Regions from separate parts of the Homo sapiens genome. Here regions 2, 3, 4, 5, 6 and 7 are each linked to region 1. The links are contacts of gene promoters, found by promoter capture Hi-C in blood cells and fetal thymus (Javierre and others, 2016). All regions are on one chromosome and are shown on one strand. The core of a region is centred on a gene start or on the middle of the fragment in contact, and the rest is flanking DNA. Distances in the headings are between cores, read along the strand shown. Region 1 holds the start of AGK (acylglycerol kinase). Region 2 holds the start of ADCK2 (aarF domain containing kinase 2). Region 3 overlaps BRAF (B-Raf proto-oncogene, serine/threonine kinase). Region 4 overlaps BRAF (B-Raf proto-oncogene, serine/threonine kinase). Region 5 overlaps BRAF (B-Raf proto-oncogene, serine/threonine kinase). Region 6 overlaps BRAF (B-Raf proto-oncogene, serine/threonine kinase). Region 7 overlaps BRAF (B-Raf proto-oncogene, serine/threonine kinase).

Evidence for each region. The method cuts DNA at HindIII sites, captures the fragments that hold promoters and counts their contacts. A CHiCAGO score of 5 or more calls a contact.
Region 2: a contact is called between the fragment with the promoter of ADCK2 here and the fragment with the promoter of AGK in region 1, in 3 of 17 cell types (endothelial precursors, M0 macrophages and naive CD8 T cells). The highest score is 7.1, in endothelial precursors.
Region 3: a fragment that was not itself captured here is called in contact with the fragment with the promoter of AGK in region 1 in 1 of 17 cell types (endothelial precursors); the score reaches 5.3 in endothelial precursors.
Region 4: a contact is called between a fragment that was not itself captured here and the fragment with the promoter of AGK in region 1, in 4 of 17 cell types (M2 macrophages, endothelial precursors, M0 macrophages and 1 more). The highest score is 8.0, in M2 macrophages.
Region 5: a fragment that was not itself captured here is called in contact with the fragment with the promoter of AGK in region 1 in 2 of 17 cell types (total CD4 T cells and M2 macrophages); the score reaches 5.7 in total CD4 T cells.
Region 6: a contact is called between a fragment that was not itself captured here and the fragment with the promoter of AGK in region 1, in 1 of 17 cell types (M2 macrophages). The highest score is 5.0, in M2 macrophages.
Region 7: a fragment that was not itself captured here is called in contact with the fragment with the promoter of AGK in region 1 in 1 of 17 cell types (M2 macrophages); the score reaches 5.3 in M2 macrophages.

Annotation. Positions count from the first base shown.
Region 1 is chr7:141,549,551-141,553,853 of GRCh38, reverse strand. AGK (acylglycerol kinase) reads right to left here and starts at 2,444. Exons shown (of 16, transcript NM_018238.4): 1 at 2,420-2,444. It overlaps AGK-DT (AGK divergent transcript), which reads left to right and starts at 2,510. Exons shown (of 6, transcript NR_183408.1): 1 at 2,510-2,710. RefSeq lists silencers at 2,200-2,379, 2,560-2,649. The HindIII fragment of the contact is 2,342 bases long and covers 1,742-4,083 here.
Region 2 is chr7:140,670,453-140,674,755 of GRCh38, reverse strand. It overlaps ADCK2 (aarF domain containing kinase 2), which reads right to left and starts at 1,811. Exons shown (of 8, transcript NM_052853.4): 1 at 493-1,811; 2 at 1-145. The coding sequence starts at 1,425. RefSeq lists a silencer at 1,417-1,876. The HindIII fragment of the contact is 25,667 bases long and covers 1-4,303 here.
Region 3 is chr7:140,736,916-140,741,218 of GRCh38, reverse strand. It overlaps BRAF (B-Raf proto-oncogene, serine/threonine kinase), which reads left to right. Exons shown (of 18, transcript NM_004333.6): 17 at 1,273-1,407. Among named protein-coding and RNA genes, the nearest start is that of NDUFB2-AS1, 42 kb to the right of the region's middle. The HindIII fragment of the contact is 700 bases long and covers 1,421-2,120 here.
Region 4 is chr7:140,785,154-140,789,456 of GRCh38, reverse strand. BRAF (B-Raf proto-oncogene, serine/threonine kinase) reads left to right here. Exons shown (of 18, transcript NM_004333.6): 9 at 1,873-1,909. Among named protein-coding and RNA genes, the nearest start is that of NDUFB2-AS1, 90 kb to the right of the region's middle. The HindIII fragment of the contact is 2,255 bases long and covers 1,009-3,263 here.
Region 5 is chr7:140,802,182-140,806,484 of GRCh38, reverse strand. The region is part of intron 5 of BRAF (B-Raf proto-oncogene, serine/threonine kinase); the gene reads left to right. Among named protein-coding and RNA genes, the nearest start is that of NDUFB2-AS1, 110 kb to the right of the region's middle. The HindIII fragment of the contact is 4,127 bases long and covers 534-4,303 here.
Region 6 is chr7:140,862,136-140,866,438 of GRCh38, reverse strand. All of the region lies in intron 1 of BRAF (B-Raf proto-oncogene, serine/threonine kinase), which reads left to right. Among named protein-coding and RNA genes, the nearest start is that of BRAF, 61 kb to the left of the region's middle. RefSeq lists a silencer at 624-824. The HindIII fragment of the contact is 3,965 bases long and covers 1-3,831 here.
Region 7 is chr7:140,915,992-140,920,294 of GRCh38, reverse strand. All of the region lies in intron 1 of BRAF (B-Raf proto-oncogene, serine/threonine kinase), which reads left to right. Among named protein-coding and RNA genes, the nearest start is that of BRAF, 6.8 kb to the left of the region's middle. The HindIII fragment of the contact is 8,965 bases long and covers 1-4,303 here.

The DNA of each region.
Region 1 (4,303 bases), core at 1,195-3,694:
GTTCTTTTATGACTCCCTTTAAATCCCATTGGTTAAAATTCCTCTCAAGGGTAGAAACATCCTTATCAAAAGCAGCAGTGAAGCCAGTGCCAGGGAGACCATCTTCCTGTGAATCCCATACACCGTCAGGCTGACACATGATTCCAAAGGCCCAACTAATTCTTGAACTCCTCTCCATCTGGCCCTAAATCACTCCTTCATTCAAGAGCCCTTTAATAAACACCTATATGGTAGGCTCTGTGCTGGGGGTGAGGGCAGAGAAGAATGGGTCTCATGCGTTCTCTCAAGTGCTCACAACTGTCAAACCCACAATGCTAACACAATTATACAATTATGATTGCAGTACAGTGGGATAAATGTCGAGGAGTCAGCACAAGGCTTTGTGAGAGTCTGCAAGAATGAACCTAACCTGGTCTAGGGCTGAGGGGGTGGTGCACAGTCAATGAAGTCTTCCCTGAGCCTTGAATAATGAGGAGGAAATCACTAAAGTAACGAAGGAGTTTTGTGGATGCTATTGTCTGAATGCTGTGTTCCCCAAAAATGGTGATGTGGAAGCCCTATCCCCATTGAGATGGTATTAGGAGATAGAGCCTTCGGGAGATAATTGGGTCATAAGAGTGGCTCCCATGAAAGGGATTAGTGTCCTTATGAGACTAGACACTACAGAGATGGTCTCTCTGCATTGTGAGGATACAGCAAGAAGACAGATCTCTACAAACCGAGGAAGAGAGCTATCACCATGCACTCAACCATGCTGGCACCTTAACTTTGGACTTCCAGCCTCCGGAACTGTGAGAATTAAATTTCTGTTGTTTAAGCCACCCAGTTTTTGCTATTTTTTTTTTACAGTAGCCCAAACTGAGAGTGTACAAAGGCATAAAAGACAGTAAAGTGTGTTGAGAGAAACATACGTAGATAGTTGAGGGGAGAATTAGGTTCATGGCTGAGACTGGAAAAAGGGGGTATGATCTAACAGTAATACGCTGGGGAGAATTTAGCAAGGCCTATTTGTTCTGATTCTTCTCTGTGTACCTGTGTCTTCAAAGATAAGGGCATTCCTTTCCTCGATCCTATACTTACAGGATGAGCACCTCTCACTGAAGGGTCTTATACAGAAGAAGGTCAAACAATTCTTTTATGGCCTGCTTCAGGGGAGAAAAGTGGGAAGACACAAAGTGACTTTCCTGCTTCAGTTGTTTCCTCTAATGCCAACGAGTCATATTTTGCGGCAGTGTGTCCTGAATCTCATCAACAGCGGAGTAAAAATTGGAGTGTCTAGAACAGGGGTTCTCAACCTTTAGTGCAGAACTTGTTAAAAACACAGAATCCTGGGAACTGCCCCTTCCCGCAAGAGTCTCATTTGTTCTGGAATTAAGCTGTCATCTTCACTTGTTAACAAGTACTCCCATGTTGGTTGCAATGGAGGTCACCACTATACCAGACTTTGAGAAACAGTGGTTTAGAGATAAAGGATTGAAGACCAGGTGGGATTAGAAAAGACCTTGAACCCACACTAAGGACTTTGGCTATTATTTTGAAGACAATGAAAAACCTTTAATGGGCTTTAAGCAGGTGAGTGATATAATCATATTTGAACTGTTAAAAGACCACTTTATAGCAGAATGAAAAATGAACTGGAAGAAGCTAAAATTAAAGCTAAAGAGAACCATTAGGAAGTTATTGCCATAATCTGTAGGCTCCTAAAAGAACAAACCAAGATAAAGGATGGATTTGGAAAGCTTTAGAAAGTAGAAATTGGCAGCAGTTGGTGGTCCATTGACTGTAGTAAGTGAGAGAGGAGGAACCAAGCCAGGTTTTTGTGCTTGGGTGACTGGTTGAATAGTGATTTCAGTCATTTAGATTTGAGTGGTAGGTTTGTGGAGAAAAGTAGTGCGGTTTAGGAGATACTGAATTTGACACGCCTGTGGAGTATCCAGGTGGAAATGTTTTTCTTACTAGATAGTGAACCCCTCATGGGCAAGTTCGTCTATCCATCTGCAGCACCAGAACCTAGTAAAGCGCCAGAATGAATGAACCAACCAACCCATCAATGGATCTGATACTATTGGCCCCATTTTGCAAAGGGCTATGCTGAAGCCCAAGGGACGAAGTGAGGGGGGTCCACAAGTTAGCGACAGCTCTGGGACTCGAACCCAGGACAGCTGACTCCCGCCGTGACCACGGGATCCGCGCGAGGCCCTCCCCTGCCGCGCCGGCCAGGCCCGCACCCCCTACCCTCAAGCCGCGCCGCCGCCTGCACCCACGACCCCTGATGCTTGGGTCCCCGCGGCTCTCGGCCCAGCGCGACTCCAGAGGCTCCGCCCAGCGCCCCGGGCCCCCATCCCGACTCCCACCCCGCTCGCGCGCTCAGTCCCAGCGACCCGCACTGCGCTCCCCGCCTGGGCGCCGCTGCACTCACCACGGCTGGTCCAGCTCGCGGCTCTGCCTTTCCTGTGTGCTCCCTCCAGATTCCCCGGCTCGTTCAAGGGAAACCGCTGCCGCCGCCCTCGGGTTCCGCCGCGGGGCTGCGAGCGCGCGCGGGCCAGTTCGGGCCGGGGGCGGGAACCGGCTCGGATGCTCAGGGACGGTGGGGGTGGCAGGGCCCACCGGCTTGAGGCTGCCTTTCCCGGCGTTCCCTCGTTTATTGGCTCACTCTTCCTTTCATCCATCCATCCTTTGCGCAACAATATTTGATGGGAAGCCTGCCAAGGTAACACTGTTTTAGCACCTGGAACTAAGTCGGAAAATAAATTAACTAAATGAACAAGGCCATTGGAGATGGTGCTCCGTGCCACGAAGAAAATGAAACGAGGTGATGGAAGGCAGTGCGGGAAGGGGGAGAACTGTGTGAAATTAGGCGGCCTGCGCTAGGCCTTCTGAGTAAGGGGCCATTGGTCTGAGACCTGGATGTCAAGAAGGAGCAGCTGAAGCAAAGATCCAGGGGAGAGAGCCTGGAGAGGGAAGGGCCCGTGCAAAAGCTGAAAAGCCTGGGGCACTCTGGCGAGTTGCAGGCCAGTGTGGGTGAGACAGAGAGAGCTAAGGAGACAGGCCAAGCGAGGAAGCTGGAGAGGTGGAGACAGGCCACGGCGGCCAGGAGTTTGGACATGACATTAAACAGGGCGAGAAGACATTGCGGGGGTGCAATCAGGGGCTGGTGGGACTGGTTTCCATTTCACACAGCTCTCTGGCCACAGGTGCTTGATTGGATTCTAGAGAACAAGAGAGCAACGGAGAAGCTAGGCCAATGCCAACCTCCAGACAGTTTACATTCTGTACTCGCCCACCAGATTGGTGTGGGGACAAAGCCAGGTCCTTCTTCTTTCCAGCATTCAGTCTGCCAACTTTTTTTTTTTTTTAGACAGGGTCTCACTCTGTGGCTCAGGCGCTAGTGCAGTGGTGCAATCTCAGCTCACTGCAGCCTCTGCTTCCCGGGTTCAAGCAATTCTTGTGCCTCAGCCTCCCGAGTAACTGGGATTACAGGTGTGTGCCACCAGGCCCAGCTAAATTTTTTTGTATTTTTAGTAAAGACGGGGGTTTTGTCACGTTGGCCAGGCTGGTCTCGAACTCCTGACCTCAAGCGATCTGCCCGCCTTGGCCTCCCAAAGTGCTACGATTATAGGCATGAGCCATCGCACCCGGCCAGTCAACCAACATTTGAGTGTGCACTAGGCCCTGCATCAGGCACTGGGGGTATGCTCAGGTACAAGGCCCTTCATGGTTCCTGCCCCATGGAGCTTGCTATCTAGTCTGCACATTTCCTACGTGTAGACATGCATCCTACCTATGTCTCCCTAGGTGAATGCTTCAAAAAAAAAAGGCCGGGGCGGGGACCTTCAATGAGGCTATGGTGCAGTAAACATATTCCTTATGCCAGGGTGCACCAATCCATTGGGCCACACTGTTTAGTAGCAAGAAATTTCTAGCCCTCTCTCCTGAGTCTCCATCTGTAAACTAGGGGACTGAGAACATTACTATTAAAAAAAAACCCTTCTAGCTCTAAAATGTTGTCATAGGGTATGGAAGACCATTATTTTCAGTTCCTCTTTTCCAACTATCTAAAGCGTTTGTGTTTGGAAATAAGCTTCTGAACTGCTCACCTGCAGGCTAGAAAAATCTGAGACTTGATTTTGATGTTCCAAGGGTCAGACTCAGCGTATGCTTTAGGGCTTCAGCATGAAAGTGGTTCCCCAAATAAGAAAAGGTCAGCTTTGATGAAGGATGAAGAAGGATGGAAATATAGGAGATTAAGGGAATCTGAATACACACCTGCAGGCAGATGTGTAGGTTGGAGTTTTGGAGACCT
Region 2 (4,303 bases), core at 562-3,061, 880 kb after region 1:
GTTGGACCATCAGCTTCTCAAATTCCTCCACAATCTCAGGCAAGCTAAGCCACTTGATGCCTGGCAAAACTCCCAGGACTCGGCTGCCAATCTTCATCAGCAGCAGGTCCATATGCACCTGAGCGAGCAGGCCAGGGTGCAACACCTGTCAGAAAGAGGAACCGTGAGACAGGAGAAACCTGCTGGACACATTTTACCCAGCCAGGGCTGGGTCCCACCATCCAAGCAAGAGCCAGGTGGCTTCTTATCAAAGAAAAGAGGATGTGGTCCCGACACCCAAGCAGTTAGTTCACTCCAGACTCAGTTCATTTTCCTCTATCAGACTATTCACACCGCCACTTCAAGCCAATAAATGAAACAGCTTGCATGAAATAAGCACTCAGATATTGGTCAGGCAAATAGAAATAAACGTGGGGGCGATTTGCATGGCGGTTGTTTCTGATCTGGGATAGCTCAGTGGGTAGGTGAGCTGTGAGCTCTCACAACACTTACTTTCACTGCCACGGAGATGAGGTTGGTGGCCTCAGGTTGGTGGCCAGGGACCTGAGCCCGAGACACCCCTGCATTTGATCCAACCAGGTCAGCTTTAGGGAGGAGCAGCCTTTCTAGAAACGACTGGTCTGCGAGATTTTCTGGAGGTTTCCGGCCATTTCCAAGGTATCCAAAGAGCTCTCTCAGCCCACCGACTGCCCCAGTATGTGAGAAGGGCGGCAGACAGGAGGCCCTGCCAAGTCTCTGGACGCTGTCAGTCTCCAGGAAGGCAGTGTTGGCGTATGCTTTGTACACCTGGGCCACGCAGCCTGAGCCCACAGGTTCCCGGTTCTCAAAAGAGAGGATGCTCCCCCAGTCATCCCCAAAAGCCTGCCGAAGGAAGCGCTCAGTGTGAGTCCACGGGTGGGGCGTCACTCGGACATGCAGCTTGGAAAATTGGGCACAGAAAGCCTCCGAAAACAGATCGCGCCGGGTGCTGGCCCACTGGCCCAGTTTGATGTAGGTTGGGCCTGAGGTCTCGGTGGCTTTCAGAAGCAGGTGGAGCCAGAGGGTGGAGACGCTGGGAGCCAGGTAGGTGAGGGGGTAGAGGAGTAGGAGGGGGAAGAATTTCACCAACAGAGCGCCGGCGCGAAGCCAGAGGCGGAGATGCAGGAAGACGCCGCCCAGAGGTCCCGCTCGGGGGAGGCTCTCCGCGGGCCCCGCGCCAGCCGCCCCGCTGCAGCGGACCCTTCGCCGACTCAGAACGTCAGGGGCCCCCTCACCCACGTCCCCGCACAGGGAGACGACCTTGGGCAAAGTGCCCAGCAGAAGCCAGCAGAGCCTGGCATCGCGAGGGCACTCGGAGGGCCTCAGGAGGCTGAGTCCCTGTCTGAGCTCGAAGCACCTCAGGTGCGACAGGCAAACCCTGACGGAGACGCGCCAGGGCGCCACCATCCTCCCGAGGCCCGCGGCCCAGGCGGCCCGCCCTCCACTTCAGAGGCGCCCGCTCAGGCGAGGCTGCGGTGAAGCCGAAGCCCGGCCCTGACCCCGCGGACGGAGCTGCCCATCTGGGCCGGATCCGCGCCCCGCTCCCTCCAGCACCTCGCCGGGCCTCAGGCCGGAGGCCCGCGCCCCGCCCGACACCCGCCGCGCCGCGCCGCGCCGCGCGGAAGGGGCTGTCAGACGGCACCAACTGCGGAACGGGAGGAGCCAGGACCCACGCGAAGCCAGGCCCCGGGCGCCCGCGACCTGAGCGAGGGGGCCGCGCGGGCGGAGGCAGGGGCCGGGCAGCCGCAGGGTCACCGTGCGCCCAGGGGCCAGTATGAGATCGCTGGGGTGGCGGGCACCAGCCCAGGGCGCGGGCGCAGGCGGGGGCCGGGAGGGCGGGGCGGAGCGTGGAGGGCGGGCGGAGCGTCGGGGGCGGAGCGTCGGGGGCGGGCGGGAGTGCAGGTGCAGGGAACCGAGGCACCGAGGGCTGTGGTGGAGCGGAGGGGCGCGGGAGATGGATGGGACGGGTTCGGCCACTAGGTTGAAACCGCCATTGCAAAATTATAACAGATAATGAAAGAGATCTGACCTAACCAACTCCATCTTGCTTCTAACCTCCAAGCTGTCCTTGTTCATTCCTGGGCGTTGGCTGAACTAACTTTGGGAGGAACTTAGTTTATACTTTATAGTTTAAAACAAAGATGATAACAGCCCTTTCTGAAAACAAACCTCCTTCTTGCCTGGGGAATAGACTGTCTTTGTAGGACTAACAAATTAACCAAAAGATTAGAAAGTATGATTTAGGAGTCAGGCAGCAAGGCTACAGTATTCTGACCCTCCCTAAACTGCTAATAAGATCAGTGCTCAAGATATTTTGCAGACCCTGCACTTGATGGATCAACTGACACCTACCAGATCGATAAACCAGGTCATCTGATCTTAGGCCCCCACTCCGGAACTAACTCAGCACAAGAGGACAGCTTCAGTTCCCTAAGATTTCACCTCCGACCCAACCAATCAGCACTCTCGACTCACTGGCCTTCCCCCACCCACCAAGTTGTCCTTAAAAACTCTGCCCAGTGTCCCGCGCAGCCTGATCTGTGTGAATTACTCCTTCTCTATTGCAATGCCCCTGTCTTGATAAATCGGCTCTGTCTAGGCAGCAGGCAAGGTGAACCCGCTGGGCTGTTACAGGGTGGCCGGTGGGGGCAGAGGGCTGGGTGCTGGGCGGTGAGGGTCGGAGGGAGCAGAGGGTCGGTGGCAGAGGCCCGGGCAGCCAGGGTCCCTTGACCCGCCCCTTAAAGAGGACGGCGACCCCAGGCCAAGACCACCCTGCCCTTGAGTCCTGGGTCCTGGGTAGCAAAACGCAAAGGCACCCTCTATGTCCCCCTCCCCATGTCTATCTTCCCACTGACTTCTTCGTATCTTTCATTATTCCAAAGAGCATGGCTGAAAAGTATGAAGGCAGGTTCTGAACACAGGTCCGCTTTTCAGCGGGGGTTGGGTAGGGGGGTGGTGTTGGATGGGGGTAACTGGGCTGCAGGAGTAGGAACTGGATGCTGTGTCCTCGGCTGCATTAATTCGGCAATTGTGTTGGACCTTGGGGAAAGGCTCCGGAAAGGCCATATTCATTCATTCAATAATACTCACTGAGCCCAATAAATATTTCTTGAGCCCAATCTCATATTTGTCGAGGCTCAATAATATGTACTGATCAAGCTAGGTCATGTGCTGGACCCTGGGAAAGCGGACACAAATATCCTGCCCTTACTGGCTGAATACGTAATGAGGGGGACCCAACATGGGAACATATAAATGTGCAATTTCAATTTTTTTTAAAAAAACACCCATGATAAGAAATCAAAATGTGCAGTTTCAAAGTGTGGCAAAGCCATGCAAGAAATGACCGGGCACGGTGGCTCACACCTGTAATCCCAGCACTTTGGGAGGCCGAGGCGGGGGGATCACTTGAGGTCAGGCATTCGAGACCAGCCTGGCCAATGTGGTAAAATCCCATCTCTACTAAAAATACAAAAATTAGCTGGGTGTGATGGTGCATGCCTGTAGTCCCAGATTATTCAGGAGGCTGAGGCAGGAGAATGGCTTGAACCCAGGAGGCAGAGGTTGCAGTGAGCCAGGATGGCACCACTGCACTCCAGCCTGGGCGACAGAGGGAGACTCTGTCAAAAAAAAAAAAAAAAAAAAGCCATGAAAAAAAAAAGATTACCAGAGGCACACATAGCATGCAACTACCCTGGAGAGGAAGGGAAGGCCAGAGAAAGCCTTAGAGGAGGGGGCCAAATAAAGCCCTAAACATAGGAAGGAGTTTGGTATGAGGTTTGGCAGGTGGGGATGTTGTATAACCTCGAAGAACCAAAGGGAAGTCAGGTGGCCCTGTGACCAAGGGGAGAGGGGTGGAGCTTGGAAATCAGCCCACAGAGCCATTGAAGGGTCCCATGGTACTGCTTCTACAACCATCTTCTCTGTCCTTTGAGATTTTTGCAGCTGCCTGCCTTGAGGGACCACAGTCACCTCTACATATAGACAGGCTTTATCCCCAAGTGAGAGGCTTCCACAGAAATCTGCCCAAGGGTGGGTCTGTGGGCATCATAAGTGGAAGGGGCGCTAAGGAAAGAGAAGCAAGAACAGGCCTATGCACCCGGTTCCCACTGCTGGAAGTGTGACAGCCATCCCTTAAGGAGGTTCCCAAACTGTGGGACCTAGGCTACAGACAGGAATGCGGGGGAGGGTGACCAGTGGCTCCTCTTGCCTTGATAACTAACAATCCACTCCCCAGAAGTCAAACCTACCACCACTAGCTTGCAATAGCACCAGCCATTAATTG
Region 3 (4,303 bases), core at 521-3,020, 810 kb after region 1:
TTAGATGATATCTAGAATCCAAGTGTCCCAACGTTTTTTGGCCTTTCAGGGCCACCTTTTCCACTGATAGCCAAGTAAGAATACCTGAATTGCTGTCCATAATATATGACTATAGGAACTCCAGATCCTTTCTCTCAACTTTGAAGACCCCTGTTTGAAGTGCTTTACATTCTCCTGGCTGTTGCTTGTCACTTGTTGCTCCAACATATTATTCCAGGTTGCTCCCAAAATTCTAAGACTGCTGTCTTCCATTAAAATGATGATGTTATGATGGTGTAGCTTCAGTAGGGGGCATTGTGAAAGAAAACTGTAATCCCCTCAATTCAGTAACTCTTTCCAAGGTTCATCCTTTAACCTCTACTACATAGAGGCCACATTGCAATCAAAGCTTTACTAATGCCTGGCAGTTAAACAAGGGTCATTACAGCACCAAACAGGAAATAACACAATGTATCAAGCTTGGCGGTTTCTAAAATTCATCAGCTCTGCCCTGTAGCAGGGATCTTTTATGGGCTTTCTCCACTTTAGCCTCTACTCTCCCCCTGTTGCACCTATTCCCTCTAAGACCAAAAGCCCTTCTCTCAGGCTGTCCTCCCTGAGTCCCAAGACTCCTAACATCTATCCCTGCCTGCCCTCAAAAGAGGCAAAATATTAGGAAATTAAGAAATTAGAAAAAATTATAAATCTCTGAATCCAGGGAAGACAAGCCTTTTTATTTCGTTAAACAGATTTTAGCTCCTAATGGCTTCCCCTTCTCTCCTCTGGCGGAGGCTCTGGTTTGTATAACCAAGTGGCCCATTAGCGTTTCCACAATAAAAGGGCTTAAGATGCAGATGCCAAAACGACTGCTAAAATGTTAACCTTTTTGGTTTTCCCTACACATATATAGAGGACTTAACACAACGTCCAACAACAAGAAGTGCTGAATAAATTTTTTTTTTTTTTAAAGTAAAGAAGAGGCACTGTCAGATCTGTTTTAGATGGTTACCCTGTGAGTGGGAAAATGGACTGGATAAAGAGAGACCAAAAGCAGGGGAGCAATTAGAGAACCTTTGCCACAGTCCAAGGATCATGAAGATTTGAGCTTGCACTCCTTTTGTGGGTTTCCCACCATCTATGATGTGGCATTGGTTTTTTAAAACTTTTTATTGAGGTGTAATACATACATCGTAAGCTGTAAATGTACAGCTTATTGTGTTTTCAATGAGTGTGAAGTATATTTTTCAACTTATCTACAAGGTTGAATTATTTCCCTTTTTTTTCTCTCTCCAGATAATTTTTATGGTGGGACGAGGATACCTGTCTCCAGATCTCAGTAAGGTACGGAGTAACTGTCCAAAAGCCATGAAGAGATTAATGGCAGAGTGCCTCAAAAAGAAAAGAGATGAGAGACCACTCTTTCCCCAAGTAAGTAAAAGCTTCATGCTATCCAAAAGAACAGACTAACATTCATAGACAGATTTCTGAGCACTTTTTTGGGCACACAGTGTGTATTTCATGAGTTTGGATTCTATGTGCAGACTCCAGACAAGAAAACACATTAAGATGGCTTCATGAGGGTTGAGCAGTGGCACACCTAGAAATTTTGGGTCCTAATACAAAATATTCAGAAAGACTTTGCATTTGTCCATCAGTTCTCAGACTTCTCAGTCTTTGAACTCTTTTACACATTTAAAAATTATCGAAGACCCCCCCCCCCACAAAGAGCTTTTGTTTATATAAGTTTTAATTCCTTATTAGAAATTAAAACTATTTTTTAAAATATTAATGAATTAAACATAGTAAACCAATATGTTAAATAATATTTAGAAAAAAACAGTTCTATTATCTAAGAGAAAAAAATTAGTGAGGAGTTGTATTGTTTTACTTTTTTTGCAAATCCCTTTGCAAAAAGAAGACAGCTGGATTCTCCGCTTTTGCACTCACATTGCAATATCTCACATCATGTCACCCCTAAAAACTCTACTTAACGCTTGTAAAATAATGACAGTAAAAAAGGCAAATGATATCTTATTGTTATTACAAAAATAGTTTTGACCTCGTGGATCCCCTGGTGGTCCACGGACCACATTTTGTGAACCACTGCTTTATTTCTTCTTGGTGGTAAACAGATTCAAGCTTTCCTTTAATACTGGGTCTTTTTGAGGGGCATTTCTGCCTGATGCAGAAAAAGGAAAAGGCAGTAAGGCATTTGTCAGCTCAGCCTGCCTTTACCTAATTCTTGATAACTCACTGCTTTTTTTTTTTTTTTTCCATATTGGAAGGATAAAGCCTTAAGTTAACAAATTTCAAAAAGAACTGTAACTAAGGCCAGGTGTCGTGGCTTACAAATCTCAACACTTTGGGAGGCCAAGGCAGGCAGATCAGTTGAGGTCAGGAGTTCGAGACCAGCCTGGCCAACATGGTGAAAACCGTCTCTACTAAAAATACAAAAATTAGCTGGGCATAGTGGCAGGAGCCTGTAATCCCAGCCACTCAGGAGGCTGAGACATGAGAATCGCTTGAACCCAGGAGGTGGAGATTGTAATGAGCTGAGATGACACCACTGCATTCCAGCCAGGGCAACAGAATGAGACTCTGTTTAAAACAAAACAAAACAAAAATATCTAAATACCTCAACTAGCTTACAGAGTTTAGCTGTAGTAGATATTATAATATAAATGCAATGTTTTCTGATACTTAGGGAGCTCCTGATAGCACTGGATAAATATGCCTTGATGAATCAGTACAGTTTCAAGTGGGAAGTGCTATTTCCCATAGTAACCCTGCTACCATAATTACTGGAGTGTTCATGTATGAACTCTTAGGCCTTTGAATGCCCAGTCCTAGCTGAGTAACTCAGACAGAAGTCAATGTTACAGGAATTAGATTCACTCATCCTTTATTTTTAAATCTAAAAAATGTTATTCTTCTCTAAAGAATGAAAGAAGATAAAATTGATGGTTTTAACAAGTCTGTCAGGGTGTTGCCTAAGAAAAGAAAGGGAAAGCTAAGTGGTTGGCTGGGTAGATATAAGTTTCATTTATCAGGTTTCAAAGTTACTGTTCCTTTGAGGAAGAGTTTTTATTTTTTCTTTTTATTTTTTTATTTGTTTCTCTAAGTCAGGAAACCTCTGGGTTGAGACTGTCCTGGTGAGAGACAAGTGCTGCTGAGCAGCTTCAGCATGACCCTGTCCCATGTTCTCTTTTCACGTCATGGTGCTCGGGTTCTTACTTAGAATGTTTATTGACATTAATAATGCAAAGTACATCCTTAGGCCCACTTTTTAAATGATATTAAAAGGGGCAAAATGCTTAGCTCCATACTTCTAAATATAACATTTCATTAATTACATGGTTTCAAAAACTGAAGTGCATATGTGAACTTTCCAGATTATTGGAGGCTATCCCTTTAAAGTGTTATTTTGAAATTTTTGTTACAGGATATCTTTTCACACCATACTGTTATATGCCACATAAATTTTAGATGGCTGAAGATCTATATGTTTTATAAAATATGAAATCATTTTTATAGTTTTGAGGTAGGAAAGGCTTTCTTAATAGACAAAATTCAGAAGGAAAAAATTAGCAGATGTGAGTACATTAAAAATTTTTAAACTTCTATATAGAAAAATAACATTGAAAGATAAAAAGAATAATTGTAGCATATATAACAAAAAGTAAATGTTTATAATATACAAAGGACTCCTCCAAATCAATAAGTAACAAACAATAGAAAATGGGCAAAGGGAATATGAACAGGTGATTCACATAATAAATACAAATGGTGAATGAACTTAGGAAAAGGTGTAAATATTTCCATGGCAGTCAGTAAAATGCAAAGACACAACAGTGAAATATATTTTAATTTCGCCTCTCAGGTTGGTAATATCCAGCACTGGGAACAATGTTGGGAAGTGAGGAGGAGCATTCTATGTAAAATTTTAAAGGTTTGGTGGAAGGCAGCATTTTGGAAGACCTTGGTAGAATCCATAAATTCAAAATACTTCTAAAAATCTGTGCTATGTAACCTATTTCATAAGTATTCAGATATATATAAGAATGTTTACTATAATAAGAAAAAGACATTAAGATTAAGTTAGTTTTGTATTGATGACATGGATATTGGTGAGAGAAAAAGAAAACAAGACAGAAAACAAAATGTAGTATGATACCTCATTTTTTTTTTTTATAGGCTGGGCCTGTTCTGTTGCCCAGGCTGGAGTGCAGTAATATGATCATAGCCCACTGCAGCCTCAAACTCCTGGGCTCAAGCGATCCTCTCACCTCAGCCTCCTAAGTAGCTGGGATTGCAGGTGCCTATC
Region 4 (4,303 bases), core at 887-3,386, 760 kb after region 1:
GATAGAAATACATCTTTAAAGAATTTACTTTGTTTTAGCCTGTAAACAAAAAGTTGTCTATTTGCAGAGACTATTCAGAGATATTTGGGGCCATTCAATCCCTCATATTTAAGTTAAACTAAATAAACAGACTAATGCAAGTTCTACCCATCAAGGCCCAAATTGCATTACCAGTAGCGACTGTCCCCACTACCATCGTTGTTATAAAGAGCTAAATATATATATAGTTTTTTTTTTGTTTTTTTTCTGTGATGGAGTCTCACTCTGTCACCCAGGCTGGAGTGCAGTGGTGCAATCTCAGCTCACTGCAACCTCCGCCTCACAGGTTCAAGCAATTCTCCTGCCTCAGCCTCCTGAGTATCTAGGATTACAGTCGCGTGCCACCATGCCTGTCTAATTTTTGTATTTTTAGTAGAGATGGTGTTTCACCATGTTGACCAGGCTGGTCTCAAACTCCTAACCTCGTGATCCACCAGCCTCAGCCTCCCAAAGTGCTGGTATTACAGGCTTGAGCCACCGCACCCGGCGCATAAAGAGCTATATTTTAATAATAAAGACAAATTTTAGTGGCCGGTTGCGGCGGCTTATGCATGTAATCCCAGCACTTTGGGAGGCTGAGGTGGACGGATCACCTGAGGTCAGGAGTTCAAGACCAGCCTGGCCAACATGGTGAAACCCCGTCTCTACTAAAAATACAAAAATTAGCCAGGCATGGTGGTGCGTGCTTGTAGTCCCAGGTATTCAGGAGGCTGAGGCAGGAGGATCACTTGAACCCAAGAGGCAGAGGTTGCAATAAGCCAAGATCACGCCACTGCACTCCAGCCTGGGCGACAGAGCAACTGAGTCTCAAAAAAAAGGACAAATTTTAACAAAACCTTTCTATGAGCCACTTTGTTTCTTTCCTCTTCTAGTGTGCCCTTATCCATCCATATTTTTATGATTGTAACCAGTGTACTTTTAATTTTATATTTTTAAATTATACTATAAACATGTTTCATGATTCAAGCTTCATAATTATTTTGGTAGCTGCATAATACTTCATTAAATTGATACACCATAATTTTCTTAACCAAAATATGTCAAAATGCCTATAATAGAGAAATAATTATTTATAACTTTTTAGTATGATGGATAATGTTGCACTAAACATCTTTGTGCATATCACTTTTTCTTCTGAATTATTTCCTTAAGAAAAGTTCCCAGAAGTAGAATTACAGAATCAAAGGATATGAACATTTTTATCTCTCTTAATGTGCACCAGTATAATTTTTTTTAAGGATTGATGAAGCCATTTTTTAAAAATTTATTTATTTCCAAAGTTCAGGGGTACATGTGCAGGATGTGCAGGGTTGTTACGTAGGTCAACATGTGCCACAGCGGTTTGCCACACAGATTATCCCATTACCTCGGTATGAAGCACAGCATCCATTAGTTATTCTTTCTGTTGCTCTTCCTCCTTTTACCATCCACCCTCCAACAGGCCCCAGTATGTGTTGTTTCCCCCATGTGTCCACTTGTTCTTATCATTCAGCTCCCACTTATAAGTGAGAAAACACAGTATTTGGTTTTCTGCTCCTGCATTAGATTGTTGAGGATAATGGAAGCCATTGGTTTTGAATGGCCTGAAATGGACATCAACATTTGATTAGGACTAATAATTGTTTCATTATAGGTTTACATTGGCAAGTGCTTCAAAATTTAGATTGTATTATGTTCACTAGATAATTCCAAATTGTTTTGTGTAATAGTTATAAGATGTATTGTTTTAATTAATAAAATAATTCTTTTAACGTTAGTGGAAAATTCAGTGTTATCGCTACTCTCTGATTATATGCTTGCTTGGAATAAATATACATTACTATTTATTTGTAGGACTTGATTAGAGACCAAGGATTTCGTGGTGATGGAGGTAAGTAGTGATTTCAGGTTTTTTTAAAAACTCAAGGAAACTGCAATTGCTTTGCTGCTTATTTCCTTTATACTTGCCTCTTTCAAGTAACAGACACAGAGAAAAATGTGTAGAGAAACCCAAAATTTTTTTGTTTTTCTGTAGTGTTTGTCATTTACCTCTAATAAAATGTTAACTAGTTTATAACATGAGTAGAAAAGATGACTGGACATAAAAGGAAGTCTTTTTTTTTTTTTTTTTTTTTTTTGAGACGGAGTCTCGCTCTGTCGCCCAGGTTGGAGTGCAGTGGCGCGATCTCGGCTCACTGCAAGCTCCGCCTCCCGGGTTCACGCCATTCTCCTGCCTCAGCCTCCCGAGTAGCTGGGACTACAGGCGCCTGCTACCACGCCCGGCTAATTTTTTGTATTTTTAGTAGAGACGGGGTTTCACCGTGTTAGCCAGGATGGTCTCGATCTCCTGACCTCGTGATCCGCCCGCCTCGGCCTCCCAAAGTGCTGGGATTACAGGCGTGAGCCACCGCGCCCGGCCAAAAGGAAGTCTTAAAATGTATTATCTACAGTTTTAAAATTTCTTCCAGGATCAGACAAGATCGGACACGTTCAGGATGGTATGGCCGTAGACTACAGTTTTAAAATATCTTACCAAGGAAAGATCCTTAATTTTTATACCCGCTTTATTAATTTCTAACCATCTTGAAAGCTATTGTTGATAAATTTCCTTTGTGGGGCTCCACTGATACTTAAAGATTGACCTTAGAATCAGATAAAACTTAACTTTGCTAAATCATTCTGAAGAGGGGGTTTGTCAGACATTATCAACCACTTCCTTCAACTTTCTGGAAGTGTTTTAAATGTACATTTTATAGAACAGACCCATAATGGCAAAGCCCATTTGTCCTCTTCTTAGGTCAGTAAATACACAAATGAGAAACTGAATTGAGATTTCCAACTGAATTTTCATCTAGTATTCACTCTAGCACATAAGACAACATTGCTTAAGAAAATACTTTTTGTAAGCATTACCCTATATAATGTTTTATAAGAGGTGATATTTGAGACTGTCTTGAAGTGTTCTTCCAGGAGGTCCTTTACACTTACCTTCCCTGTTGTCTTCTGCCTAGTAAGGAAGACCTGTAATAACTGCTTATCATGCTTAGAGTTGACCTCTTCACTGTGACCTTCTTTATCTTCAAAATATCTAAGCCCAGACTCAACAATATTTTACATTGAGTAAACATTGTTATAAACCTTCTTTTGTTATGTTTCTGTATACCCATGAAGCAACCAAAATAATAATAAGCCTGCATTCTATACTCTGGACTTGGTATTGATGTTAGCACATAGTTACACAAGCTTTTTTTTTCCTGTTTGTTATTTCATGAACCTGCCAATTAATGTTGCTGCCAGTTTGACTTTCGTATGTCTTAATAGCTGTGGCTTTTGATAATTTTGCCTAATACATCCAGCATTTAAATGTTGCCATCATGTTAGCATCACAAAATTAACTTAGTCATAAACACAGCCTGCTTAGTACCTAAAAGCAAGTGGCATTTCTTGTCCTTTTCATGAGTCACTTTTTAAAAAATCATTGGGATTTTATGAAAATAAGCAGATTTTTGGTCCAGAATTATTTTATGAAACAGGCTTCAATTCATCTTGTTTATTCCCCATGACTTCTTTCATTTCTTCTGTGTGTCTGTCTTCCTGTGTTTGCCTGCCCCTCTCTTTCTCTTCTAACAGCCCCTTTGAACCAGCTGATGCGCTGTCTTCGGAAATACCAATCCCGGACTCCCAGTCCCCTCCTACATTCTGTCCCCAGTGAAATAGTGTTTGATTTTGAGCCTGGCCCAGTGTTCAGAGGTAGTTGGGCTCTTCTTTCTTGTTTTCACCCAAAGCAAACTAAATATAAAACTACAGATGCTGTTTGTGCCTCACCCTCACAGCGTGTGTTTGTAAGTGTGAAAGTTTTCAGTACTAAATTTCTGTTTGGCCTGGCTGGAATGCTTTGAATGTACGTCTCACACGTACTCACTGCCACAAGCTTTCTGTATGCTGTCTGTCATAAATTTTTAAAAGCAAGAAAATCCTGACCTGAGATTTCCATCTTGTTTTTTCGTTATTTTATTACTTCTTGGTCTTGATAATTTCTTAAACTTAGTGGGTGGGAATAAATAAGGTGGGTGGGGAAGAGCTTACTGGATTCCTTTGATTTTAATGCATTTAAGTGATTATTCTTGATGACTTAATATTTGTTAATTTTGTGGTTTTTAAGAAAATTAAAGTGTCAATGGAAACTTCTATTATGAGATTTTATTAGGCTTTTGGCCTTTTTTCAGATTCTGTAATACTAGCAGTGTTTTTTGGGTTTTTCTTTCCCCCAATATGGGATGTGTAT
Region 5 (4,303 bases), core at 1,348-3,847, 750 kb after region 1:
TCCAGAGTATGGAAATTGTCACCACTCAGTTGGATACCTGCCAGTAAATTTTTATTGAGAACTTTCCATTTGCCAATACCATATCTTACCTAGGGATATGACAAATGAATAAGACAGTGTCACTGCCATAGAGTAGAGAGAAGATTTAATAAATTTTCATAAACATTCATAATTACTATATATGTATAAAGTTCTATAGATGCACAGAGATTCCTAACCTGGCTTTTGAGGAGTTAGGAAGGTTTCTCAGAGACAGAAATATCTAAGCTTAGGCCTGATGGATGAGGAAGTAAGTATCAAGTAAAGAGTACCCTAAACAGAGGGAAGAGCAAGAAAGCATGTTACCTTTCAAAGTTTTGAAAGAAGTTCAGAATGGATGATACAAGGTTGAAGAGTAGGTTGTTAACAGTATTGTGGGTAGAATAAGAGTTGTGGGTAGAATAAGCAGAGTCCAGCTCATGAAAATCCTTGTTAGCCATATTAAAGATTTGGATTTTTCTGTAAAATAATTAGAAATGTAATAGTTGTAAGCTTGGGGAGAAATGTGATTAGATTTGTGTGTTAGAATGATTGCTCTGAGTGCCATATAGAGGCAAGATCAAAAACCTATGTTCTGCTTAGAAAGGAAAAGTGTTCTTGGCTGTCTTGGGTTTTGCTTGGCTATTCAAGGAGGGCTGCTTATGCCTCATGGTTTCATATTATAAAAGCAATCCCTTCAGTATTTCTCTATATCCCAAGAGTCCTTGGGAACTGGGAAGTGGGAAAACAAGATTTGAAACTTTTATATCCAAACCTTCTCCTTTTTCTGCAGACACTCAGTGTCTTCCTTCACACAGCCCCACACCTTACAAATTAATGCATGCAAATTACCTTGACTGTGCCTCTCACTAATTTGCCATACATATTTATGTATACTCAGATACTAGATTAAGTGTAAGCTGTGACCCAAAAGAAAGATATATCTTCCTGTGCTCATCTTTATTGACAAAGGTATACTTACAGATACAGGCATATATTGCTTAAAATTTATGATCAAATGCATATCCACATGTTTTCTTTCCTTCAGCTGTTTTGGTCACCTACCTACTTGGTTTGGTGAATAATGGCCACATAAAAAATTTTAAAGATTTTAAAATTTCTTGTATATCCAGAGACAAATGGAAAAAGAACACAATTAGAAATAGACATTTACCTGTTTTATATCCCCTAGAAAGTGATACATAGGAAAAAAGGTGAAGAAAATAAGAGTCACTTTTAAAACTAAATGTCCTCAAAAAGCCAGAATGTATTATATATCAGGATGTAATTTTCTTGAAATATTTTCAATAACTTTCTATTCTTAATGGAACAGAATGTGTAAATAAATGTGTATTGAAAATGGACTTTTGGCTGGGCACAGTGGCTCATGCCTCTAATCCCTTGAGAGGCCGAGGCAGGCAGATCACTTGAGCCCAAGAGTTCAAGACCAGCCTGGGTAACATGACAAAACCTCATCTCTCCAAAAAAATACAAAAAGTAGGTGGGCATGGTGGTGTGCACCAATAGCCTTGGCTATTCAGCCTGAGGTGGGAGGATAACTTGAGCCTGGGAGGCAGACTTTGCAGTGAGTCATGATTGTGCCACCATACTCCAGCCTGGGCAACAGAGCAAGACCCTATCAAAAAAAAAAGAAAAGAAAAAGAAAAGTAGACTTTTGATGTTGAAATCTATTTAATGTATCATAAAAAAATTTACATGTAGCAGAATAGATTAGGAAGTTCTAATTCATGTTGTATATAGTCAGGGTAAGTAGTGTTGTATGAATACAGTTATATATGGAGTCATAATGTAAAATATCATTATTTGTGATTAAAACTCTGAAAAACTGGGCACAGTGGCTCACGCCTGTAATCCCAGCACTTTGGGAGGCTAAGGTGGGCAGCTCACGAGGTCAGGAGTTCAAGACCAGCCTGGCCAGCCTGGTAAAATCCTGTCTCATTTGAAAATCTTGTGAGTTGTAACTGGTTTTATACAAAATATTGAAGAGTGGAAATTGTATAATTACAATCATGTAATTAAAAGTATTAACCACCCCCCCCAAAAAAAAAACCTGTCTCTACTAAAAATACAAAAATTAGCCAGGTGTGATGGTGTGCGCCTATAGTCCTAGCTGCTCGGGAGGCTGAGGCAGGAAAATCGCTTGAATCCAGGAGGTGGAGGTTGTAGTGAGCCGAGATCGTGCCACTGCACTCCGGCCTGGGTGACAGTGAGACTCTGTCTCAAAAAAAAAATCTCTGAAAAACTGAAATGAATTAAGAATATAGAGGCCGAGTGTGGTGGCTCATGTCTGTAACACTCTGGGAAGACGAGGCAGGCGGATCACTTGAGGTCAGGAGTTTGAGACCAGCCTGGCCAACATGGTGAAACTCCATCTCCACCAAAAAATACAAACGTTAGCTAGGCATGGTGGTGCATGCCTGTAGTCCCCAGCTACTTGGGAGGCTGAGGCAGGAGAATCACTTGAAACCAGGAGGCAGAGGTTGCAGTGGGCCGAGATCCTGCCACTGTACTCCAACCTGGGCGACAGAGCGAGACTCCATCTCAAGAATACAGAGCAAAGAACAAATAATGAAATAGAAGTCACCCATGCTCTCGCCACTCTGAAGTAGCCACTCACATTTTGATATTTATTCTTATATTTTCTTATTATTATATACACTAAATAAATATATTTTAAGCAATTTCTGGCTTTAGTGGGATAGATTCTTCCTAGTGCAGTTCTGTTACGTGACTCATGTTCTACATCATTTGCCTTTGACATGGAATTCTTAACATGTTGCCTTCTAAGTTTCACCTAGAGAAGTGTTCACAAATAAGTTTATGTGGCCCAAACATTCTAATCCTCTAAGAAATTGATCATTTGTTAGAAAAAATAGATCTTATTGTCTTTTAGGTGATTTTTCTGTTTCTTATTTTTTTTAGTAAGATTAGGAAGAGCTGTTTCAATTTTCATATGATTACTTACTAGTTTTATAAATAATTGTTTTTACATTTTTATCCAAAGTTAACCATTATGTTTTTGGACCATAGATCAGGGGTTCTGATTCTGTCAGCTATTTTGTTTTTGTTTTTGTTTTAGCTATTATGTAGATTGTATTTATAGTCTCTCTCCCTCCCACCCCCAATTCCACTCTGGAGGAATTCACTGTTAATTTTTAATGGTTTCTGTTTTAAGCTCTTTTGGTGATTATTTTCATCTTACTAAATACAGTTACACATTGCCTGATGACTGGGATATGTTCTGAGAAATGCATCAATGGTGATTTTGTTATGTGCTTACACAAGCCTACATGGTATAGCCTAACTATACAACTAGGCTATATGGTAGAGCCTATTGCTTCTAAGCTAATAACCTGCACGGAATGTTACTGAACTGAATGCTGTAGGTAACCTTAACACAGTGGCAAGTTTGTGTATCTAAACGTAGAAAAGGTACAGTAAAAATACAGTATAAAAGATCAAAAATGGTCTACCTGTGTAGGATACCTAATATGAACAGAGCTTTTAGGACTGGAAATTGCTCTGGTGAGTGAGTGGTGAGTGAATGTGAAGGCGTAGGACATTACTATTTGTTACTGTAGACTTTTATGATAAACATTGTACACTTAGGCTACAGTACAGTTTTAAAATTTTTCTTTTTAAAAAGTTTATAAAGTAAAAAATTTACATTAAACTAAGGTTTAATTTTTTTTAACTTTTTGACTCTTGAAATAACAGTTTCAAAAGTTTAAAAACATTATATAGCTATACAAAAATATTTTATGTGCTTATTCTATAAACTTCTATTTTAAAAATTTTTAATTTTTCTTTTTTACTTTTTAAACTTTTCTGTTAAAAATGAAGACACAAGCTGCACACGGTGGCTCATGTTTGTAATCCCAGCACTTGAGGAGGCCTAGGCAGACGCATCACCTGAGGTCAGGAGTTCAAGACCAGCCTGGTCAACATGGTGAAACCCTTCCTCTAATAAAAAATAGGAAAATTAGCCAGGCCTAGTGGCATGTGCCTGTGGTCCCAGCTGCTCGGGAGGCTGAAGCAGGAGAATCACTTGAACCAGGAGGTGGAGGTTGCAGTGAGCCGAGATCGTGCCACAGCACTCCAGCCTGGGCGACAGAGCCAGACTCTGTCTCAAAAAAAAAAAAAAAAAAAAAAAGACACAAACATACACATTAGCCTAGGTCTACACAAGGTCAGGATCTTCAAGGTATCACTAGGCAATAGGAATTATTCAACTCCTTTATAATCTTATGGGACCACTGTGGTA
Region 6 (4,303 bases), core at 600-3,099, 690 kb after region 1:
AGTCCTAACAGGCTGTCATGCCTCAGTTGTTTATTTGTGACAGTGTTTCCCACAGACTTTTAATTTTGGAATGATAGGATGTGGTGCTCTGGAATGGTGTCCCAGGGTTTTGGAGAACTGAGAGTAACCTGGGAAAGCAGGTTACAGTGAGAGAAAGTTATGACCAGGAGTTGTACCAAAACGCAGGAAACATGATATGTATATTGTTATGGTGCATAAAAATACTTACAATTAAAAGTCCTGAACCTACACTACATCTATTGTTTCACATATTTTCCTTCAATTTAAATCCTGCTCCAAATACAGCTCCTTTCCGAAAATTCAGTTTTATGTGACAGAAATTTGATCTGTTTCACTGAAAACCCATTTGAATAGTAATTGTGAGCAATTGTTGAATTTGTAAATGTTACGTAAATTTAGTGGATGACTTTGTGGACAGTTTGACGTTATGGACAGTTATTCTTGATACTGTTTCCCCTCCTTTCCCCTGCCATCCCTGAAACTTTAGGGCTTAATCTGCTTTTAATTAGCCAGAAAAAAATGTTTGATCCTCTTATTCAGTTTTAGATTATTTTAGATGATTTCTAAGTTAAACTCTAAGTTAGAATAGTTTCTGCTTATTGATTTCATGAATATCACTTCTCTATTTCTACTTCTCACCTTCTGCCAGGCCAAAGGAATTGTGGAACTATGATCATCAAACTCCTAAATCATCAGCCTTTTCCTTAAAAGACTTAAAAGGGTTCTATCTATGTAGACACTTGTCTGGCTCCTGATTACAGTTTTACCATTCTCAAGTGATACTATTTGTTTCATCACAGTCCACATAATTCAGGGTCAAGATACTATTATGAAATGACTGTAAAAATTACTAATACCTTTGGCTCTCTAATTTTTCTCTCTTTTCATCATATGGGCCTGACAAAATGCCCGCTACCTGCCTGCACTTAGGCAATTGAATGTAGTGCTTTAAATGTATACCAAAACCCTCAACAGGGCATCAACAATGTCTGGCAGTGCAGCTGCTTCTTCACTTTCCCAATTAAAAATGCGTTTGCTGGCTGGGCGCAGTGGCTCATGTGTGTAATCCCAGCACTTTGGGAGGCCGAGGCAGGTGGATCACTTGAGGCCAGGAGTTCAAGACCAGGCTGGCCAACATGGTGAAACCCCGTTTCTACTAAAAATACAAAAATTAGCTGGGTGTGGTGGCGTGTGCCTGTAATCTCAGCTACTTGGGAGGCTGAGGCAGGAGAATCGTTTGAGCCCAGGACGCGGAGTCTGCGGTGAACCAACATCGCACTACTGCTCTCTGGCCTGGGCAACAGAATGAGACTCTGTCTCAGAAAAAAAAAAAAAAATTCATTTCCTCCACTCATTGCAAACCTCTCACAGCTCCCACTCCTATCTGTGGAATTCACTTCAAACTTTACTGAGAAATTAAATGCAGCTCTTGTCATCTTTTCACCACCAATTCTACAAACTTGTCTGCATTGGTCCTCTTGTTCTGTCTTCCTTTCATTTGTTATCGAAGACCATTCCCGACAGTCTGATTTCTCTACTTGTGACTCAGATTTCATCTTTCCTGCATCTCTGTCTTCCATATCATTCTTCTCCCCTCGATTAAATTCCCTTTAGCCACAAACATGCTCTATTATCTCCCAGCCCCAATACATCTGCAAATGTATGTAAATAGGAATGACCAAATATGTACAGATATACAATTCCTACCTTTCCTAATGTCTTCTAGCCACTATTATGTGTTCCTATTCTTATCTAATAAATTTTCTTAACTGAATATTTTTTCCTTCTACCTCAGTGTCTGTTTCTTTCTTTTCAGCCATTTTTGGTTTCTCTTGTAAATGTTTATGATCCCCAGGGCTGAGCCTTCTTGGCCTATACTCTCTTGTAGGTCTGCCTCCCAGTATGCTAGTGACACCCAAATATGTCTTCAGCCTCATCTCTCCTCCAGGGTTCTAAACTTGCATAACCAGCTGCCTTCTTGATCATTTAGTAAGCCTCTCCTGTTGGTGACATAATGCTTGATTTCTCTCCCTCATGGCATCACTGTCCACCCGTTGCACACATCAGAATTTCAGAATCAGCCTTAATTCTTAGTTTTTTCTCACTCTTCCTCCATGTCTAATCCAGTAGCCCTATCTCCACTGTTTTCACCTTGGTCCAAGCAATCATCTCTTGCTTAACACAACCATAGTTTCAACTAGTCTTCCTCCCTGCATTCACTCTTGGCCCAAGCAATCATCTCTTGCTTAACTATGGTTGCTTAACACAATCATAGTTTCAACTAGTCTTCCTCCCTGCATTCATTCTTGGCGCACCGTAATCCATTCTTCACTAGAGTGATAATTAGAGGTACTATAATATATACTGCTCTAGAGTTATATTGTCTAGAATTTACTAGCTGAGTGGCCTTGAGCAATATACTTAACACTTATGCCACAATGTGCTCGTCTATAAAATGGGATGGTATATTTATCTGTTCTCTGATTGCTATAAAGGAATACCTGAGACTGGGTAGTTTATAAAGAAAAGAGGTTTAATTGGCTCACGGTTCTGCAGGCTCTACAGAAAGCATGATACTGGCATCTGCTCACCTTCTGGGGAGGCCTCAGGAAACTTACAGTCATGGCAGAAGGCAAAGCAGGAGCAGGTGCGTCTTACATGGCAGGAGCAAGGGGTAGGGGGAGGTGCTACACACTTGTAAACAATCAGATCTTTTGAGAACTCACTCATCAAAAGGACAGCATCAAGAGGATGGTGCTAAACCATTCATGAAAGATCCACCCCCATGATCTAGTCACCTCCAACCAGGCCCCACCTCCAACATTGGGGATTACAATTTGACATGAGATTGGGTGGGGACACAGATTCAAACCATATCAGAAGTAAATTGTTAGTAAAATATAAATCAGATTATGTCACACATACCTGTTTTTGAAACTTTAGATTCTCATTGCTCTTAGAATAAAATTAAAACTCTACTTACCGTGGCTTTCAGGATCCTTCATAACCTGGCATATTGCCTAATTTTTCTGATACCCATCTTGTTTCTACTCTCCCCTTGCTTACCATATAGCCACAGTCACTATCTTTAACTTTCTAGTTGGAAACATGGCTTTTTGTGGGGTGTATTTCCTTTTACTTTCTATTGTTTTGGGACCAACTTATTTACGTCAGTTTTGTGTTTGTTTTGTTATATGTAAAAATAGTGCCTTAAAAAATCAGTTTTTTTTTTTAACCTGGTGAATCATTTGTTTTATCTTTATAAATGCTGGGACGAGAGGCCTACTCCTTTTTTCCAATTTTGTGAGAGATTGGTAAAATTCTTAGAAGTGGAATTGCTAGGTCAAAAGATAGAAATGTTTTCAGATGGATGATTCCTATTGAAGTAAATTTTTTGAGAACTTAACATGTCCAAAAAGGTTTTCATTTGCCCTCATGCTTGACTGGTAGTTTGCCTGGATGTAAAATTCCAGATTCACAGTCATTTTTGCCCAGACAGTGAAAACATTATTCTACTATCTTTTAAAAAATAACAGTTTTATTGAGGCATAATTCATATACCATACTATGTGCAATTTAGTGGTTTTTAATATATTCATAGAGTTGTATAGCCATCACCGCAGTACATTGTAGAATATTTTTATCACTCAAAAATGAAACCCCTGGATTTATTAGCAGTCATTCTCTGTTCCCACCAATTTGCCCACCCCCCAGCCTTAAGTCAACAAGTAATCTACTTTCCGTCTTCATTGTCTTTTAATGTTGCTGATGAAAAGTCTGATGCCAAATTAATTCTAGTTATAGGAAGCTTTTAGAGTTTTCCGTTTTGAATTTCTGGAATTTAATTATGTAAACTAGGATTTATGTAGATATGAGTCTTTTAATTCATCCGCCTTAGCCTCACTGAGCCCTTTTACTCAGACCATTGGTGTTTTTAACTCCAAATATTTTTAGCATAATCTTTATTTATTCTATTTTCTTCATTTAGAACTCTTACTAAATGTATTTTGAACTTCCCAAACATATTCTTTATATCTCTTCAACTTTTTACTTGTATCACCCATTTCTTTCTTTCTTGCTCTCTCTTTTTTAACCTCTCTACCTTCTGGGACATTTCTTTGTGTTACATATCACTACTATGATCTTTATCAATACTACTTCTGTTATTTACCCCTTCTCCTCAAGTGTTTTCTTAGTAATAATATTTCAGTTTTCTCCTTGCCCATTTATTCTGTTTGTTCATTGTGATCTTTTTCTTTCCTCCCATTGGATATTCATAGTG
Region 7 (4,303 bases), core at 698-3,197, 630 kb after region 1:
TCTTTCAGAACTGCAGAAGTGCATTTTGTTTCTTTGACACTTTGATGTTGTTAATTTAGCTGAATACCTAGTGAACATTTTGTGTCATAATCCCCTTGTTTTATGAAATCCAGTATGGTCTAGTCACCTTACATTTCTGCCTCATATTGTCCTTAAGCCTTTTTTTGTCAGTAGCTCTTACTAGATTTTGTCTTCATCAGAAGTTAAAGTGTTTTAAGTCCTTTACTCATTCTGTTTCTCTATTTTAACTTACATTGGTTATTCTGTAAAGTCAGATGTGGCAGTAGGGCTGGTCGTGGTGGCTCACACCTGTAGTCCCAGCTACTTGGGAAGCTGAGATGGGAGCATCACTTGAGCCCTGAAGTTCGAGGCTGCAGTGAGCCATGATCGCACCACTGCACTCTAGCCTGGCAACAGAGTGAGACCCTGCCTCAAAACAAACAAACAAACAAACAAAAAAAAAACAAAAAAACTTGCTTGTAGAACTTCTGAATTCAAAATAGGTGGGCCTATTTGGGAGCTTTTCTGTTTTTAAGGTGTCAAGTACTGCTTTTTAAAATCATAAGGTTATGGATAACTTCATGTTAGTGTAAGAAGAAAAATATAGCCTCATTTGTTCCATTTCTTTCTTAAATTTTTTGTTTTCATTGCCATGTTTTTATTTTTCGATTTCAATTTTTCCAGCCTAAATCACTAACATACTTAATTAGCATGGTAATCAGAAGATACTCTTTAATACAGTCTCCACCCTAACATTAAGCAATTATTTTTCCCCCCTACCCTCTGAGATTATTTTTGTGTCCATGTTTTCTCTTGGGCTTAAAAAAAAAAACTATTATTCTAATTCCTTCCTGTATCAAGACTATGCATATAGAGGGAACTCAATGCCCAGTAACTTCTTTTTCTGGGCCCTGGTGATGTAGAATATAAAAATTGCTTTGAACTCAATTAACTTTATATCTTCTGGAAGCTCTGTAACATCGGATAAAGCGTCGTTTTCATTCTTGTAATGTAGCTGCAGTTCCTGACAGCACGTTTGGGACAAATGTACTGTGGGACGGTGGTTTTCAAAGTACGCCAGAGCTCTAGGAGAATTTTTCGAAAACATTCTATCATTGTAAATAATAATTTTTTTTTTTTTTTTTTTTGAGACGGAGTCTCGCTCTGTCTCGCAGACTGGAGTGCAGTGGCGCGATCTCAGCTCACTGCAAGCTCTGCCTCCCGGGTTCACGCCTTTCTGCCTTTCTCCTGCCTCAGCCTCCCCAGTAGCTGGGACTACAGGCGCCTGCCACCACGCCCAGCTAATTTTTTGTATTTTTAGTAGAGACGGGGTTTCACCGTGTTGGCCAGGATGGTCTCAATCTCCTGACCTCGTGATCTGCCCGCCTCAGCCTCCCAAAGTGCTGGGATTACAGGCGTGAGCCACCACACCTGGCCAGAATAAAAATTCCAAATTGCACTAATGCATATGTGAAACTGTTTTTGTCTGTTTTGTAGTTTTAAAATCTTCATCTATAATAGTACCTGGCACATAGGTACTAAAATATTTGGTGAAAGAATTAGTGAATAAAACCTTACTGGATATGAGGTGATCTGATTTTCTGTAACATTCTATTCTTTTTTTCTGCCGGTCACAAAATCACCTTATGAAATTGACAGCCAAATTGGCTGCAACAGGCAGTTTGAAAAACACTGTTTTGGGGTTTCAAGGACCTTCTTCAGAGGTTACCCCAGGGCTCTGTTTAGTGCCTCTATACCAGGGGCCCCCAACCCCTGGGCCACAGCCTCGTATCTACCAGTCCGTGACCTGTTAGGAACCTGACTACACCGCAGGAGGTGAGTGGCAGGCAAGTGAGCATTACCGCCAAAGCTCCACCTCCTGTCAGATCAGCGGCAGGAGCGTGAACCCTATCAGAAACTGTGCATGTGAGGGATCTAGATTGTGTGCTTCTTGTGAGAATCTAATGCCTGATGATCTGAGGTGGAACAATTTCATCCTGAAACCCCCTCTACCCCTGTCCATGGAAAAATTGTCTTCCATGAAATTGGTCACTGGTCCCAAAAAGGTTGGGGAGTGCTGCCCTATACCATAACTATTGAAGTTCTTCATTTATCTGCTTTACATGTTAGTTTCCTTGAAAAAAGGGTTTTATGGCTGTAAAAATTTTAGAGCTACTATGTATGGAAGAGAGGTTTGTGCTGGCATAAATCTTCTCAGGTATCATCTGTGTAGAAAATTTCAACAACTTGTGTCTTAAGGCAGAGGTCAGCAATCTTAAGGGTCAGATGGCAAATATTTTAGGCATTGTGGGACATACAGTTCCTCTCACAATTCCTCAACAATACTGTAGTAGCTCAGAAGTAGCTAATAGACAATATTTAAACAAATGAGTTTGACTCTGTTCCAGTAGTCATTTTCAGGACACTGAAATTTGAATTTCATATCATTTTCATGTGTCATGAAAATCTTCTTTTGATTTTTTTTCTACCACTTAAACATGTAAAAAGTATTCTTAGCTTGTGAGCTATACAAAAGCAGATAGTGGGCCAGTTCATGGGCTGAACTGTTCTGACTCCTGGTCTAAGGGAGACTATATATGTTATATTTGAGGTTCTCAAAGTAAGATGTAGGTTAGAGGTCTATAGAAAGTTCATAATTGCTTTTGTAAAAACTAGATTGATTTATTTGAGAGGGAGAGAGAGGTGGAGTTTCACTGTATTGCCCAGGCTGGACTTGAACTCTGGGCTCAAGCAATCTTCCAGCCTCAGCCTCCCAAGTAGCTAGGACTACAGGCATGCACCAAGCCCAGCTCCTAGTTCCTCTTTGCACTCAGTTTCATCTTCTACCCTCAGCCCCTGGCAAACACTGGTCTGATCTCTGTGCCCTTTCCAGAAAGTCATATAAATGGAGTCATATAAAAGTCATATCAGTGGGGCCGGGCATGGTGGCTCACACCTGTAATTTCAGCACTTTGGGAGGCTGAGGAGGGCAGATCACCTGAGGTCAGGAGTTTGAGACTGGCCTGGCCAACATGGTGAAACCCCCTCTCTACTAAAAATACAAAAATTAGCCGAGCATGGTGGTGGGCACCTGCAATCCCAGCTACCTGGGAGGCTGAGGCAGGAGAAACACTTGAACCCGGGAGAGGGAGGTTGTAGTGAGCCGAGATCGCGTCATTGCACTCCAGCAATTGTGAAGCAGTGGTTAAGGTTCATTCATTATTTTACATATGGATGTCCAGTTGTTTCACATTTATCAAATTTCTTTTGAATCACCTTGGCACTTTTATTGAAATCAATTGCTTATGTTTGTGAGTTTTGGATTCTACTGTTTTATTGATCTGTGTGTGTTTTCTTAGGCTAATACCCCACTACCTTAGTTATGATAGCTTTATAGTTAAATTTAAAATCAGGTAGGTCCAGTTGAGAAGATTTTTAGAACTTTGACTTTTTAATTTCTTGTTACCATACTTTTGGAAGGAGAAGACTCATAATTTTATTCAGGTTTTCAAAGGTGTCTTCTACCCCCAAATACTTAAGACTTCAGTATATAGTTAATATATCTCTGTCTTGAATTATGTGGTGGTGAGGTTCATGAAAAGTGACAGGTAAAAGTTGCAACCAAAATTAATTTCCTTATAAGAAAGGACATATTTTAGTAGGTTGCACAGAAAAGTCAATCACGTCCTTTTTACCGTGTTGCATTATGAGGTGTAATCAAAATGTGTATAGGGGAAAATGAATATGTTAAGATGTTTATTCACCAAAAAAAGTCACCGAAAGTGTCAATTAGGTTGTGAAAGATACTAGTTTACAATGTGTTATTCTCCATCTTCATTAGAAGAGTTCTTCCATTTGAAACCTATGTCATGTTCTGTGATATTTCAGAGTTAGTATCTTTATGAATCTTAGGGGCATCATTAAATCATTATGTTTCTTCTAAGGAAAGGCATATGGTAGTAGTTGGTCATATTTCTACCTTTTTCAGTGGGGCCTATAGGGCCCCTTTACTTTGTTTTAAACTGCACTGATAGCTTTTTACTGGTTAGCCCAGGGAATTATCCCTACAGTGTAAAATGATGTTTCTCATCATGATTTTCATTTAATAATTTAAAAACAAAATAACAGGAAACACATGTTTCTAGAGAGGAAGTGTGGAATACCTGACTAGTAGAGGGTCAGGTGACAATTGCGAAGGTAGAAACTGACTAAGTTTTGACCATGTTGCAAGGAGTATCGTTCCAGTTTTGTTGGGTCACCTTGCAGAGTTTTTAAAAAAAATCCTTGGGTTTTTTTTGTTTGT